5 separate regions of the Homo sapiens genome follow, and regions 1, 3, 4 and 5 are each linked to region 2. The links are contacts of gene promoters, found by promoter capture Hi-C in blood cells and fetal thymus (Javierre and others, 2016). All regions are on one chromosome and are shown on one strand. The core of a region is centred on a gene start or on the middle of the fragment in contact, and the rest is flanking DNA. Distances in the headings are between cores, read along the strand shown.

Evidence for each region. The method cuts DNA at HindIII sites, captures the fragments that hold promoters and counts their contacts. A CHiCAGO score of 5 or more calls a contact.
Region 1: a contact is called between a fragment that was not itself captured here and the fragment with the promoter of ZNF703 in region 2, in 5 of 17 cell types (monocytes, M0 macrophages, M2 macrophages and 2 more). The highest score is 10.1, in monocytes.
Region 3: a contact is called between a fragment that was not itself captured here and the fragment with the promoter of ZNF703 in region 2, in 4 of 17 cell types (M2 macrophages, M1 macrophages, M0 macrophages and 1 more). The highest score is 16.6, in M2 macrophages.
Region 4: a contact is called between a fragment that was not itself captured here and the fragment with the promoter of ZNF703 in region 2, in 4 of 17 cell types (M1 macrophages, M2 macrophages, M0 macrophages and 1 more). The highest score is 9.4, in M1 macrophages.
Region 5: a fragment that was not itself captured here is called in contact with the fragment with the promoter of ZNF703 in region 2 in 7 of 17 cell types (monocytes, naive B cells, total B cells and 4 more); the score reaches 9.5 in monocytes.

Annotation. Positions count from the first base shown.
Region 1 is chr8:37,360,198-37,362,897 of GRCh38, forward strand. No RefSeq gene overlaps it. Among named protein-coding and RNA genes, the nearest start is that of LINC01605, 240 kb to the right of the region's middle. The HindIII fragment of the contact is 5,070 bases long and covers 1-2,700 here.
Region 2 is chr8:37,694,465-37,697,164 of GRCh38, forward strand. ZNF703 (zinc finger protein 703) reads left to right here and starts at 1,318. Exons shown (of 2, transcript NM_025069.3): 1 at 1,318-1,758; 2 at 2,681-2,700. The coding sequence starts at 1,516. LOC124901932 (a long non-coding RNA gene) reads left to right here. Exons shown (of 2, transcript XR_007060887.1): 2 at 1-319. LOC124901933 (a long non-coding RNA gene) reads right to left here and starts at 1,217. Exons shown (of 2, transcript XR_007060888.1): 1 at 976-1,217; 2 at 281-519. RefSeq lists silencers at 1-141, 929-1,278, 1,329-1,428 and enhancers at 1,163-1,706, 1,707-2,249. The HindIII fragment of the contact is 16,475 bases long and covers 1-2,700 here.
Region 3 is chr8:37,319,781-37,322,480 of GRCh38, forward strand. No RefSeq gene overlaps it. Among named protein-coding and RNA genes, the nearest start is that of LINC01605, 280 kb to the right of the region's middle. The HindIII fragment of the contact is 521 bases long and covers 1,025-1,545 here.
Region 4 is chr8:37,336,817-37,339,516 of GRCh38, forward strand. No RefSeq gene overlaps it. Among named protein-coding and RNA genes, the nearest start is that of LINC01605, 260 kb to the right of the region's middle. The HindIII fragment of the contact is 2,058 bases long and covers 299-2,356 here.
Region 5 is chr8:37,413,005-37,415,704 of GRCh38, forward strand. All of the region lies in intron 4 of LINC01605 (long intergenic non-protein coding RNA 1605), which reads right to left. Among named protein-coding and RNA genes, the nearest start is that of LINC01605, 190 kb to the right of the region's middle. The HindIII fragment of the contact is 7,799 bases long and covers 1-2,700 here.

The DNA of each region.
Region 1 (2,700 bases), core at 201-2,700, 330 kb before region 2:
AGCATCTCTGGTCCCAAGCACCACAGGTCAATAGTTCTACCCAGTCATTGGATCATCCAAAAGTGCCCCCAACATGTTCCCAAGTGCCCTCACTTGACAGTTACTGGGAGATAATATCTAAGGTCCCACCTTGGGCACAGACATCTTAAATGGGTCTGCAAAGGGGCCCATCTCCCTTTGCCTCCCTAACCAAAGAGCAGAAAAGCTGATGCTCCTGCTAGTGGCAGCTAGAGGGACCTCGGGTCCAGCCGGGAGCCATCCCACTGAGAGGCAGCAGCAGGAGAGAGGAAAGTCCTTTCAGCAGTGGGCCTGATGCATACGTGGCCTTCACCTGCTCTAGGTCGGCTCCCAGCGCTGGGCGGAAGGCGTTTAAGTCTATTTGACTGTCCCTGTCATCGTAAGGTTTACGGATGGTTAATTTATTCTTTATAGCACAGTCATTGATGGCTGTTAAATCACAAATGAGAGCCAATAAAGGGTGAATTGCAGCTGAAATTACACTGTTTATATGACAGCAGAGTGCCGGCTAAAAGATTCATATGCTGCTGATGAAGTATGTTATAAATTTTAATTACCATAGTTTGTACAAATGACATGTTTGAAATGCTATTGAGTAATGTGACCCTGATAATGAAACTATAAAATAAATCATTAACTTTCTGAATGAGCTTTTTTATTTCAGTGCTGCACAGAGTAAACTTTTCAGTTTATTCCAGATCAGTCTTTTTATGCCCCCACCTTCTGCCTCTGGCCTAACCGACTCTTCTCCACCCAGGTTGGGGACAGAGGAGTGACAGGAGGCCTGGGAAAAGCCTGGGGAATCTTCCTGGCAGGACTGACCCCAGCAGACACAGCTCAGGGGCTGGGGAAGGGAGAGTTAGCCAGGAATGGGGGTCCAGACATGCACCTTAAATAAGCCCCATAAAGTTGCCCACCTGTGAGAAGAAAGGACTTTTTTGAACCTGCAGACCCTCTAAAGATCCCCATCCACTGGCAACTGGGCTCTGAGACTGAAGCACCCAACAGAGCCACCTGCAGCAACACCCCAGATGCATCAGACCCTTGGGGAGACAGGCTACAGGGCGGGTGAGAGATTCACGAGAATACTGGGTCAATTTTCCCAGCCCACAGCCCAATTAGGAGTCCAGAAGAGAGAAGGCAAGATGGCATTTGGTGGATTTTCCCACTGCTAAATCATCCCTATTTCAATACATTGGTCCATCATGTTGATGAATAATCCCCTCACACTACTCACAAGGCACATGTCACTGTGGTTAGACACATCTTGCAGAAAAGAGCCTGCAGCTCCAGAAGAAATCTGAAAGAGGAAGTCACACCAAAAGCCATTTTGGGCAACTCCCCACTCCAGGAAATCAGGGCTGAAACTCTCCAAGCAGGCATGTCCCTCTTAGTCCTGCAGGGCAGGAAATGCTTTGGTAGCTTAAGCAAAGTCATGTGCTCACGGGTCATCAGCGCATCAAGAGAACTTGGACATCCTTTAGCCCTAAAACTCTCAATGTGGTGGGGGAAAAAAATGCAGGGGAAGAGGTTTGATTCCCAAATATATAAATTCCAGAAGAAAATAATATAATACAAGTGGCCAAGAAACATATGAAAAAAATGCTCATCATCACTAATCATCAGAGAAATGCAAATCAAAACCAAAATGAGACACCATCTCACATCAGTCATAAGGGCTATTACTAAAAAGTCAGAAAATAACAGATGTTGGTGAGGCTGTGGAGAAAAGAGAATGCTTATACATTGCTGGTGAGAATGTAAATCTGTCCAGCCACTGTGGAAAGAAGTCCAGAGATTTTTCAAAGAATGTAAAACAAAGCTATCATTTGACCCAGCAATTCCATTACTGGGTATATACTCAAAAGAAAATAGGTCATTCAACCAAAAAGACACATGCACTCATGTGTTTATTGCTGAGCTATTCACAATAGCAAAAACATGGAATCAACCCGGGTGCCTATCAATGGTAGATTGGATAAAGAAAATGTGATACATATACACCTGGAATACTATGCAGCCATAAAAAGAATGAAATCATGTCCTTTGTAGCAACATGGATGGAGCTGGAGGCCATAATCTTAAGCAAATTAACACAGGAACAGAAAACCAAATATCATACTTTTTCACTTGTAAGTGGGAGCTGAACACTGAGCATACATGGACATCAAGGTGGGAACAATAGACACTGGGGAATGCCAGAGGGTGGGAGGGTGAGTTTAAAAACTACCTCTCGGGTCCTGTGCTTACTACCTGGGTGACAGAATCTGTACTCTCAACCTCAGCATCACACAATATTCCCATGTAACACATCTGCATATATATCCTCTGTATTTAAAATAAGAATGGAAAAGAATGAGTTCATGTCCTTTGCAGGGACATGGATGAAGCTGGAAACCATCATCCTCAGCAAACTAACCTAGGAACAGGAAACCAAACACTGCATGTTCTCACTCATAAATGGGAGTTGAACAATGAGAACACATGGACACAGGGAGGGGAACAACACACAGTAGGGCCTGTCGAGGGGTGAGGGGAAAGGGGAGGGAAAGCATTAGGACAAATACCTAATGCATGCAGTGCTTAAAGTCCAGATGATGGGTTGATAGGTACAGCAAACCACCATAGCACATACATACCTATGTAACAAACTTGCAAGTTCAGTGCATATATCCTAGAACT
Region 2 (2,700 bases), core at 68-2,567:
AGAGCAATACGCCCCGAGTGACAGCCCTGACAACCGGAGTGATGGATCGGGACTGGAAAAGTGGTGCTGGGAGCCAGGCAGTGACACCAGCGCGCCTCCACTGGCCGCCGAGCGCACGGAGAAGTGGGCTCCCCAGAGTTCGGCACCCAAAGGACCAACTTCGCCTCCGGAAAAGCGGCGGATCCGGAACTTGGATGTCAGGACTATGACTACGTAAAATCTCTGCCCAGGGCGAAGCTAGCAATGCACACTGTATCAGAAAGGCGCAGGGAGTCGGGAAGGGTATTGTTATTTTTAATTAAAAGTTTTTATCCCGAAATTTGCCTGGGGAAAGCAAGTGCTTTTTCCCCCGGAGTGAGAAGGATGGGGGGGCGGAGGGGTTGTGTTGCCGAGCAGCGCTTAGAGAGAGATCCCCCTCCAGGGACACCCGCCTCGCCCGTGATCTCGGTCTCTCCTCGTAGCAGCTGGGCGCGGTACAGTGAGGAACTTCACGCCCCTCAGCAGGACACGGTAAGAAGCCTGTAACACACCAGACACCGAGCCTCTAACGCAGGGCGCAGGCACAGCGCGCACAGCCTGGGGTCCCGCGCTTGGTCGCCGACCATGTCACTCCAGAAGGGAGACAAACTTGCAGGCTTCAGACAAGACGGGCTCAAAGTAGTTGGAGCTGCCTACGCCGCGTCCCGAGAACAGTGGGTGCCTCCGAGGCTCGGGCGCTTCCAAGTGAACACACCAAGGGGAGGCCAAGTAGGGGAAGGAGAGCGGGGCCGAGGAGAGCCGGAGCAGCTCTGGAGAAGGACCCGGGCTCCCGAGGCGAGGCCTGCCCCCAGGCGGCCTCTGGGAGAGGCTTGAACTCCAGCGTCCCAGAGCCCGCGCCGTGCGATCCCTCCCACCCCACCCCACCCCACCCCACCCCACCTCGGACACACACGGCGGGCGGGGTTACAGCCCCCGCCAGCATCACCCCCCACCCACCCAGTGGTGAGAAGGGAGAGAGGAGAGAGAGCGGCCGGAAAGGAGGACGGGGCGCAGAGCTCAGGGTCCCGGAGAAGTCCCGTCCCAGGCGGGGGACCCCAGGGCGAGGAAGGCCCAGTCGGGGGGAGGGGAGGAATCCCGGGAGCGGCCGAGACCGAGGCAGCGGCGGCGCGCGGCGCGGCCCCTTTAAGGCTCTCCCCGCCCACCGATGGAGCCGGCCTCAGCCCGCCGCTCTCCCCGCCCCGGGGTCCCGGCGAGAGCTGCGATTGGGCGGGCGCGGCGATCCCTTTGAAGTGTGGCTGCCGATCGCGGCTATTTGACGTGCGGCTCGAGGAAGGCGAAGGTTTTTGTGTTGCTAGCCGGGGCCAGCGGCGGTGGCGGCGGCGGCGGAGGCGTCGGTGGAGGAGGGGAGGCGGCGAGGAGGCGCAGCTCCCGCTGCACCGCGATCGACGCTGCGGAGCGAGCCCACCCGCCCCGGGAGCTCGCCTCCCCGGTGCTCCCCCGCCCTCCCCGCCCCCCCAGCGGCGCTGCCTCCTCCAAATGAGCGATTCGCCCGCTGGATCTAACCCAAGGACACCCGAAAGCAGCGGCAGCGGCAGCGGCGGCGGCGGGAAGAGGCCGGCGGTGCCGGCAGCGGTGTCCCTCTTGCCACCGGCGGACCCCCTGCGCCAGGCGAACCGGCTCCCGATCAGGGTCCTGAAGATGCTGAGCGCTCACACCGGTCACCTCCTGCACCCGGAGTACCTGCAGCCGCTGTCCTCCACTCCCGTCAGCCCCATTGAGGTCAGTCCCCGGCCGCTGCCCCCGGGCGCCGGCCCCATTCCTCCCACCGCGACCGGGACCCTGACCCAGCTCCCAGCGCCCCGGGGCTCGGTGCGACACCCAAGTCTGGTCACGCTGGCGGGCTGAGTGAGGAGGGGAAGAAAACCGAGGGATCAGAGCCCACCAGGGCTTCCCCAGGCTTCCCCGTGGAAGGGTCTCCTTCCACGCTCGCCCTTCGGAGCTCCGTGTTTTCTCTCGGATTGGATTTGCTCCTGGAGTCCCCTCTGGGTCCTTTACTTTTCCTCTGATCCCCAGTTTCCAGCCAGGAGTTGGTCTCTGCTGGGTCTTCCCCGCCCCCCACGCCGGGCTGTTTTCTTTGAAGCCCTGGCTGCCCGGGTCCCACTTCGCCTCTGTCCCATCCGGTGAGGGCGCACGGCGCCCTGGCGCTCCCGATCCCGGATCTTTCTTCCTGCCTCTTCCCTGGGTGCCCTCCCCGGGAGGGAGGGGCTACGGAGAGAGCGCCAACTGCAGCCCCTCCTTTAGAATCCGCGCTCCCCTCTCCTACCCCGCGGCGCCATCGCCAGAAACCCGTCCCAAGCGAAGTTCCCCCAAACTAAAGGAATAAGTTTTTTCCTGGGCCTGGAGGAGGGGGACATTAGAGGGAAGTGGCGAGTCACAGCCCCGACTCCAGAGACGTCACCTTCTCCCGCAGGGGTCCTGGGTGAACTCCTTCCGCAGGGCCTGCGGCGCACCCCGGGACCCAGCGGCAGTGTGGGCGCAGTTCCGCCAGCTGCCGCGCCCGGCCCGGCCCTCGCTCGCAGACCCTCTCCCCAGGCCCGCCCCGCCCCGTGGCGCCGCCGCCCAGCTCCCCGGGCGCCCCCGCTCGCCCCGCAGGCCTCTGAGTCTCACTCCTTCTCCCTCCCCCTGCTTCTGTCTCCCACAGCTGGACGCCAAGAAGAGCCC
Region 3 (2,700 bases), core at 35-2,534, 370 kb before region 2:
GATTGGATAAGTGAACCTGACTGGGGACTTGGGAAGGCTTCAGGTAGAGCCAGCTTCGCGTACTTGAATGTCATCCTTAATCTGTGGCCTGCTAAGAGTCTCCAGTTTTTGTATGGATAATGCCCGGACTATGACAACTTGCCTTGAAACTCCCTCTATTAAACAACCAAAACACATTCATAGCTATTGTTGACCTAAAAGGAAGAATCTGAGGCCACATTAGTGTAAGTAGAAAGGTATTTGGGCCAAACTTGAAATTGCAACTCGGGAGCACAGAATCAAGTTGTCCTGAATATACACTTTGATTAGCAGCAGTTACAAGTGGATTTTTAAAGGCAAAACAGGGGACAAGGAGTGGATTGATACAAAGTTGTTCGTCAGGAATTCTCACTGGTTTACAGAAATAACATTGATTAGTGATTGGCTAGACATTGTTAAGCAATAGGTTGTGGCTGATAGTGTCTGGTGTGGCATTATGAGGTTAATTTATAGCCTGTAGTAATAGCAAGCAGTTTCAAGAGAAGAATACGTAGCTCAAGGGGGAAGTAGGATGTGATTGCTGTCTCATTTTAATATCTCTCTGGGCCTGCTAATTAAAAGGACTCCCATTCCTCAGATAAAAGTTCTTTTCTTTTCTCACCATCCAGTAAACAACCAGTCCCAATATTGATGCTCAATGAGACACTGGCCAGCTGGCTGGTAAAGTTTAGCAGCATCTCAACTGACTTGATCCGCTCTGCATTTAGAGCAGGGACTGGCCAGTGCAAAGAAGGAGGAGGAGGTGCTACTTTAACTACACTTCCCCCATTATTTGCGATTCAAAAACTTCCATTGAACAACCTCATTGAACTGGCCGTGCAAATTTCCTAAATATTTTCTAAATGAATGACCATAAATTTGAAAGCAAATTCAAGGTCCCTGGGGCAATGGAAAAAGTCTACAAGGAAAATCCACAAGGTAGAAGAGGGGCCTTATCCAGTATAACCCAAGAAGAAGAATCATAAAGGGGAAGTAGTCAAAACAAAGCTTTATATCATTTGGTTTTGCATAATTAATAAATGTCTGTAATCACATTTATTTGTATTTCATCTAGTTCCATTTCAACATCAAATTTTGATAATTCATGGTATGAAAATGGAAATTAAAAGTTCAGCACTATGATTTTTCTATGAATAATTAGGAATAGAAATAAGAAGAAATGGAGATTCAAAGTATCTTGGCTAATTCTTTGTACATATCCCTTCCAGAAGTCAAGATTAATTCTCCTTTCCTTGAGAGTGAGCTAGACATAGTGATTCACTTCTATCAAATAGAATATGGCAAAAGTGATGGTATATGACTCCCAGGTCAAAAGGAGCATTATTGCTTTCTCCTGGCTATATCTTGGATCACTTGCTTTTGAGGAAATCAGCTGCCACATGGTAAGAAAACTCAAGCAAACTTTTTCAGAGGTCCATGTGGCAATAGCCTGCCAATAGCCAGAGAGGAACCAAGGCCATGTTAGGAAGTGAGTCATCTTGGGAAGAACTTCTCTAGCCCTGCTCAAGCTTCAGAGGATGTCAACTTAGCCAATGTCTTAAATGCAACCTCATGAAAGATGCTGAGTCAGAATCACCCATATATAAGCTGTTCCCAAATTCCTGTCCCACATAAACTGCAAGATAGTAACCACTACACTTTGGGTAATGTCATATAGAGCAACAGATAACTGATACAGAAGATGAGATACCTTGATGCTCCAAACAAGATTAAAACTGACGACCAAAAGTTGTGGCAGACTTTTTCACACCAACCAGAAGCTACAGCTACTGTCTGAATGAAAGGAAAAACTTGCCTCTCTCGGCTTGTTTGGCTGGGTCCTCTTATCCCACACATTAAGCCCATAGGGACTCTTCCATAGCCCTTCCTATGGGAGGGGCTACGGAAGATCTCCTAGCCAGAGATCTTTCCCATGGCCTCAGACAAAATTTTAAAGAAGACCCAACCTGCCAATAAGTTAAAACATGCTGCTGTTATCACCATCAACCCTCTAAGCAAATCCCTCCATTTTTGGTAGTTGGGAGTAAAATTCATCATTCTATAGCCATAAAACAACACATTCCAAGAGCATCTTTTTGCCTTCCCAACTTCTCTTATAAGTTGTTAATACAGCTTGAGTCGAGTGTAAGTTATTCAGTATACCTATTTGGGAAGCAGGATATTTCTAGGGGTCATCAAAAGGGAGGAAACCCTCCTTCTGCCCTATGAATAACTCCCCTTAATTTTATCTATATGGCGGGGGCAGTTAGAGACAAGAGAGGACCTATGGTTTCCATGTATTGAACTCTGCTAACATGAAGTTCAACTATATCCCCACCTCCTCCCTCTTTGCTTGTTACTCCTCCAGTTTTTGCACATGTAAGATGCCCTCCTTCTGAGTCCCTTTCCTAATGGCACAGCACAGGCAGCTTTTGTGAGTAGCTACTTCTCCTCCCAGCAGGCAAAATAATGTCTGTCCTAGTGAAAATTAACTAGGGAGGCCAAAGGCCTGTAAATTGCCATAGGACCAAACCAGATCCACTTTCCTGCTTTTTATATAGTATCAGCAAGATCAATGACATTTGTTCTGAGGCCTGACAGGTATTAAATTCATCTCATTGTGCTTACTTTGTTTGTCCAATGAACATGCCTAACAATAACAGAGAAAGGACTCCTCCAAAG
Region 4 (2,700 bases), core at 78-2,577, 360 kb before region 2:
GTGTGATATGGATCTAGTGACTCACTTCTAATGAACAGAATACAGCAAAAGTGATGGGTTGTCTCTTCAGAGATTAGATTACAAAAGGCTGTGAGTTCTGTCTCATATTCACTTGCTCTCTCTCTCTCTCTCTCTCTTTGATGAAGCAAGCCACCATGTGGTGAGCTGCCCTACTGAGAAGCTCACATAGCAAGGAGGGCAGCCTCCAGCCTGCAGCCACTGAGAAACTGAGGTCCACAGGGACTGAACCCTGCCAATAACCTCTTGATGAGCTTGGAAGTCAATCCACCCCCAGTTAAGCTTGGAGATGACTGCAGGCCCAGCCATCACCTTGACTACAGCCTCACGGCCAACCCAGAAGCAGAGAGCCCGGCTAAGTGATGGCCAGGTTCCTGACTCACAGAAACTATGAGATAATAAATGTGATTTGTTTTAAGTCACTAAGTTTTGGGGTAACTTATTACATCACAATAGATAAAAATGTTCATTGTCATTTTCTAATATTATTTTCAAGACATTTCTATTATATTTTGTAGTATGTCTATTATTATTTTCTAATATTATTTTCTAGACATATTTTCCATAACTGTTTTCTAGACATATTTTCTAATTTATTTATTAGAAGAGACAATGAAGGGAGACACACTCAGAAAGATTAAGACCAAGAGAAGGTTGAAAGTCTTGCCGTTGGTATAATACATCTTGGCAGGGGTGAGCCTTTCCATGGACAGCTGGGTCTCTACAGAATGTTAGAGCAGAGACCCTGGAAAAACCCTCCACTCTTTGATGTGTTCGCTTATGTTGAAATTCTGCAATTAGTCTTTTCTGTACCTTAAAGTTCTTTCCTCTTATTAAATACACTACACTTGGAGTCAGACAACACAAAATCTCATCCCAGGTTCTTACTTCATTAACTGTGTGATTCTTAATAAGTCATTTATGTATCCCTCAAACTATGTTTAAGGAACAAAAATATGAATTTTGGAAATTTACTTTTCTATGTCCATGTTTCATTTTAGAAGAGGAATAAATAACACCTGACTTATAGAACTCATGGGACACTTTGAGGTAGTTAAATGTGGTAAGATGGTTGCAAGTGTCTTTTAAATAATAAAGAACTCGCACGGTGGCTGAAGCCTGTAATCCCAGCACTCTGAACGGCCAAGACGGGCAGGTCACCTGAGGTCAGGAGTTCAAGACCAGCCTGACCAACATGGCAAAACCCCATCTCTACTAAAAATACAAAGTTAGCTGGGTGTGGTGGCGGGTGCCTGTAATCCCAACTACTTGGGAGGTTGAGGCAGGAGAATTGCTTGAACCCAGGAGGCAGAGGTTGCAGTGACCCAGGATGGAGCCATTGCACTCCAGCCTGGGCAACAGGAGTGAAACTCCGTCTCAAAATAAATAAATAAATAAATAACAATAAAGAACTCTGTACAGAAAAGGAACATTTTAAGTCTCTTTTGTGGGCTCTCCCATATGGGACACTCTCCAAACTATCATTAGACTGCTATGTTAAGTAAGATAGACTTTTATAAGGCCTTTTCCTGGAAGTAGCTTTTAGGGAGGAAGTTGAAGTAGAAGAAAATCAGCCTTTCAGATGCACTGATTTAATCTTCCCTACAGCTCATAAGGCAGACACTCATTATTCCCCTTTTACTGATGTTGAAACCAAGGCTTAGAGACCTCAAGAAACTTGCTGTTAGTCACACAGCGATTAAGGGACTGAGTCACACAGCGATTAAGGGACTGAGTCCAGAGTCAATGCACAGTAACCTGGAGGGCCAAGCCCTATTCTGTAAGATGCATTTTCTTGTACTCTCTGCTTCGCACCTTCCAGAAGAGCAATTTCTGGCCTTTCTCCTTCTTTGTTTCTATGTTCCCATCAAACATGCTGTGACACTTCACACAAACAGCCACGTACACAAATCAATTGCAATCAGCTGTATTTCTCTCCTGATGTTAAAAGACTCGTAAAGGAAAATGCACTTGTTTCAAACACCCTTTTCTGACACTAAATCAACTCTCCACCATTGGTGGAATTTCTGCACAAATTGAGCTGGGCCCTCATGAGACCAAGATTTACCAGTATAAATCCCAGGTTTGTAGGGGCTGTCTAGTTGCATTACTAGAAAGAGCTGATCTGGCGGCTGAGTTTTCTGTGCATGGGTTGGTTGCATCTTCTTGACTCCTAATTCAAGCCAGGACACTTGGCAACTCACTTTCTAGTAAGTGATGTGGAGGCTGCCAGGGGTGGGTGTGGTCAGTGCCAAGAGCTGTCCTTACCCCATCACATCTCACCACTGCAACCCAAGGAAATGTCAATCAGAACTACTGTCTTCTGCAGAAACATCCAAGCTTCCTAATAATACATTGCACAGGAATCATGGTTCTCATGGGATACTCACCAAATCTGTTTCATCCATAGCGACTTTGCTTCTTTGATGCCTATCAGGCATGCTGACATCTACAGAAACTTCACAGGTTCCAGGGCTGCAGTTAACTCTGTGACCCTGAACACCCACAATTTCTCCTTGCCTTAGTTTCTCTTATTTAGATCTGCCCTCCGAATCAGCTTCCTTATTTATACAGTGAGAATATGAATATCTTCTGTACTTCATAGATATTAGAAGAGTTGAAGGGGTCTCCAGAAACACAAACCCTTTCCTTTTAACTATCCCAACAAGGTCATGGAACTTT
Region 5 (2,700 bases), core at 191-2,690, 280 kb before region 2:
AGGAGCAGGAAGAGCCGAATGCTTTGCAGTGTGGTGGGACTGTGCCTGCTATGTGTTGTGTCTTTTGAAAACAGTCAGCATGAGGGTAGAATGAGAAACTATGGGCAAGCAACACAACAGAGACCCAGCAAGGAACCATCCCATGAGATTCGAGAGTTGACCCCAACTCGGCACTGCACCCTCTTTGGAGCCAAACAGCTAACTTGGAAATGTGAATGGAGAAGTGATACAAAGAGTTGGAGAGGAGGGCCTATGAAACAACTGCAGGGCCCAGAATTAATTAGTCCAGAGTGGGAAAGTCTAGGAGAGAGGATGAATTGATTTAACTGTAGGCTTCAAGCCAATGGTAGGCTGTCTTGACCTCCAAGAATGGTGCCAACTGGTCCTCTCCAAGTCACTTGAGGATAAAAGAGCAAGGAATGGACATGCCAAACCCAGATTTATCTCTTTGTAATCCTTGGCTTTAAAACCTATGATGGTGGATGATGGGAGATTGCTTGGTGGGTACAATGTGCGTTGCTCCAGTGATGGAGGCACTGAAGGCCCTGACTTTACCACAATGCAACATACGTGTTATGGTTTGGATGTGTGTCCCCTCCAAATCTCATGTGAAATGTGACCTCCAATGTTGCATTGAAGAAGAGTGGGCTCAGCAGGAGGTGGGCCTAGTGGGAGGTGTTTGGTTCTCGGGGGCAGATTCCCCATGAATGGCTTGGTGTCCTCCCCATGGTAATGAGTGGTAATGGATGATTAATGAGTTCACAGGGGTGCCGGTTGTTTAAGAGAGGCTCGGACCTCCCTCCCCTCTCTCTTGCTCCCTGACTCACCATGTGACACGTCCACTCCCCCTTCACCTTCTGCCATGAGTAAAAGCATCCTGAGGCTTCCCTGGAAGTCAAGCAGATGCTGGTGCCCTGCTTCCTGTACAGCCTGCAGAACTGTGAGCCAAATAAACCTCTTTTCTGTGTAAATTACCCAGCCTCAGGTATTTCTTTATAGCAGCACAAGAACAGACTAACACAATATCAATGTAGCAAAGTTACAGTTGTACCCCATAAATATATACTAATTTTAAAAAAGAAAAAACAAAATAAAATAAAACCTATGAAGAGCAGCTTCTTTGCTCCTGTTTCCTTAGCCTTCCTGCCTCTGTCTCTCACACCCAGGAGTAGCCCATTTCTAGATGGTAATTTGGCTAGCCACATTCTTCCGACACCTGATATCCAAAACATCCCAGAGTACAGAGGATGGAAGTGACCTTGAGTGGCCCTTTAGCTCATCCTCTGCCTCTGGGTACCTCAAGTGTATAAGCAGGTTTCTAAACTTACTTGATATTACCAGGTAAGCATCACAGCCCATCTAAAGTATAATCTGGTCCAAAAACATCATTGTGAAAGACACCCTACAATGGCCTCTTATAACAACCTCTTAAAGAAAAATTTAAAACTAAAAGGTGTATAAAGAAACATTTAAAAAAAAAGAAAAAAGAAGATGTTCTGGAAGAAATACACAGGATTCCTCACCAGAGTCCACAGAAACAGCTAGAGAAGCAAGGCTACCTCTTGGGCCCTTGGAGGCCAGAAGTGGGACTCATACCCCCTCCTCCTCTAGTCTGCACCCTCTTTACCTTCTCACCTACTAGAGGATATGGCCAGAGGACATGAGGGGCCTGTGTGGTTCCAGCTTACCAACCCCAGAGGAAAGGGCTCTGTCACTCTCACAGGCAAGAATGGTTTGGGATCTAGGTTAAATCAGCAGCTGTGAAATCCTGCCTGCTGATGTGGTGGAATCACTGGCTCCCTAAGTAGGAGGCAGCACTGGGTACTCATCAGAATCTGGTCTCTAGAGATGGAGGACTTGGAACTGAGCATGTCACCTAACCTCCCTGTGGCTAAGTTTACTCATCTGTAAAATGACAGTGATCATACTACCTACCTACCTCATGCAGTTGCTGAGAGGATTAAATAAGTTAATGTGTATAAAGTGATCTGTATAGTGCCTGGCACACCTTTAACTATTAGTTGTTTACTAGTTCTTAAAAGACTCTTTCTTTTTGGTTGTCATGAAGTAGGCTGTTCCCAAGTCCAAATTCACACTCTGAAATTGTCATCATGGTAGAATAAATACTATTATTTATTACATAGTATTAACAGGCCATCAGACTCTTATCAAATATCCTACTGGGTTATATGGATATTTTATCCATTAGGCAGAAAGCGCAAATTCTGAAACTTATATGTTATAAACTGAATAAAAATACAAACTTATTTAGACCAAGACCTTTATAAAATTATTTAATAAAATAATCTATGCATATCAAATAATTTCTGGCAGATGCATGAAAAAAGAAAGATTTATTAAATAATCTTTTTACGTCATTGCTACCCATGGTCTCTACTTGAATTTTGTTATATTTTTCTTCCAGCTATTTCTCTATATTCTAGTGGAATTTTAACCTAATTATAACCATTCTATGTGTCATCATTTCCCAAAACATTCTCCCGCAGAACACCAATGTTCAAAGATAGTAATAGATGTTGGTTGGATAAAGGACTCCAGAGTGAAACAAGTTCAAGAAGCAATAGGTTAAGCCACAACACTTCTCAGAACCTTCAGTGCTGATGAGCATCATGAAGTCTTGAGAGGGGCGTGTGATACCAAGTATTTCCAAATATATTTGACATGGGAGTAGTGTTCCAA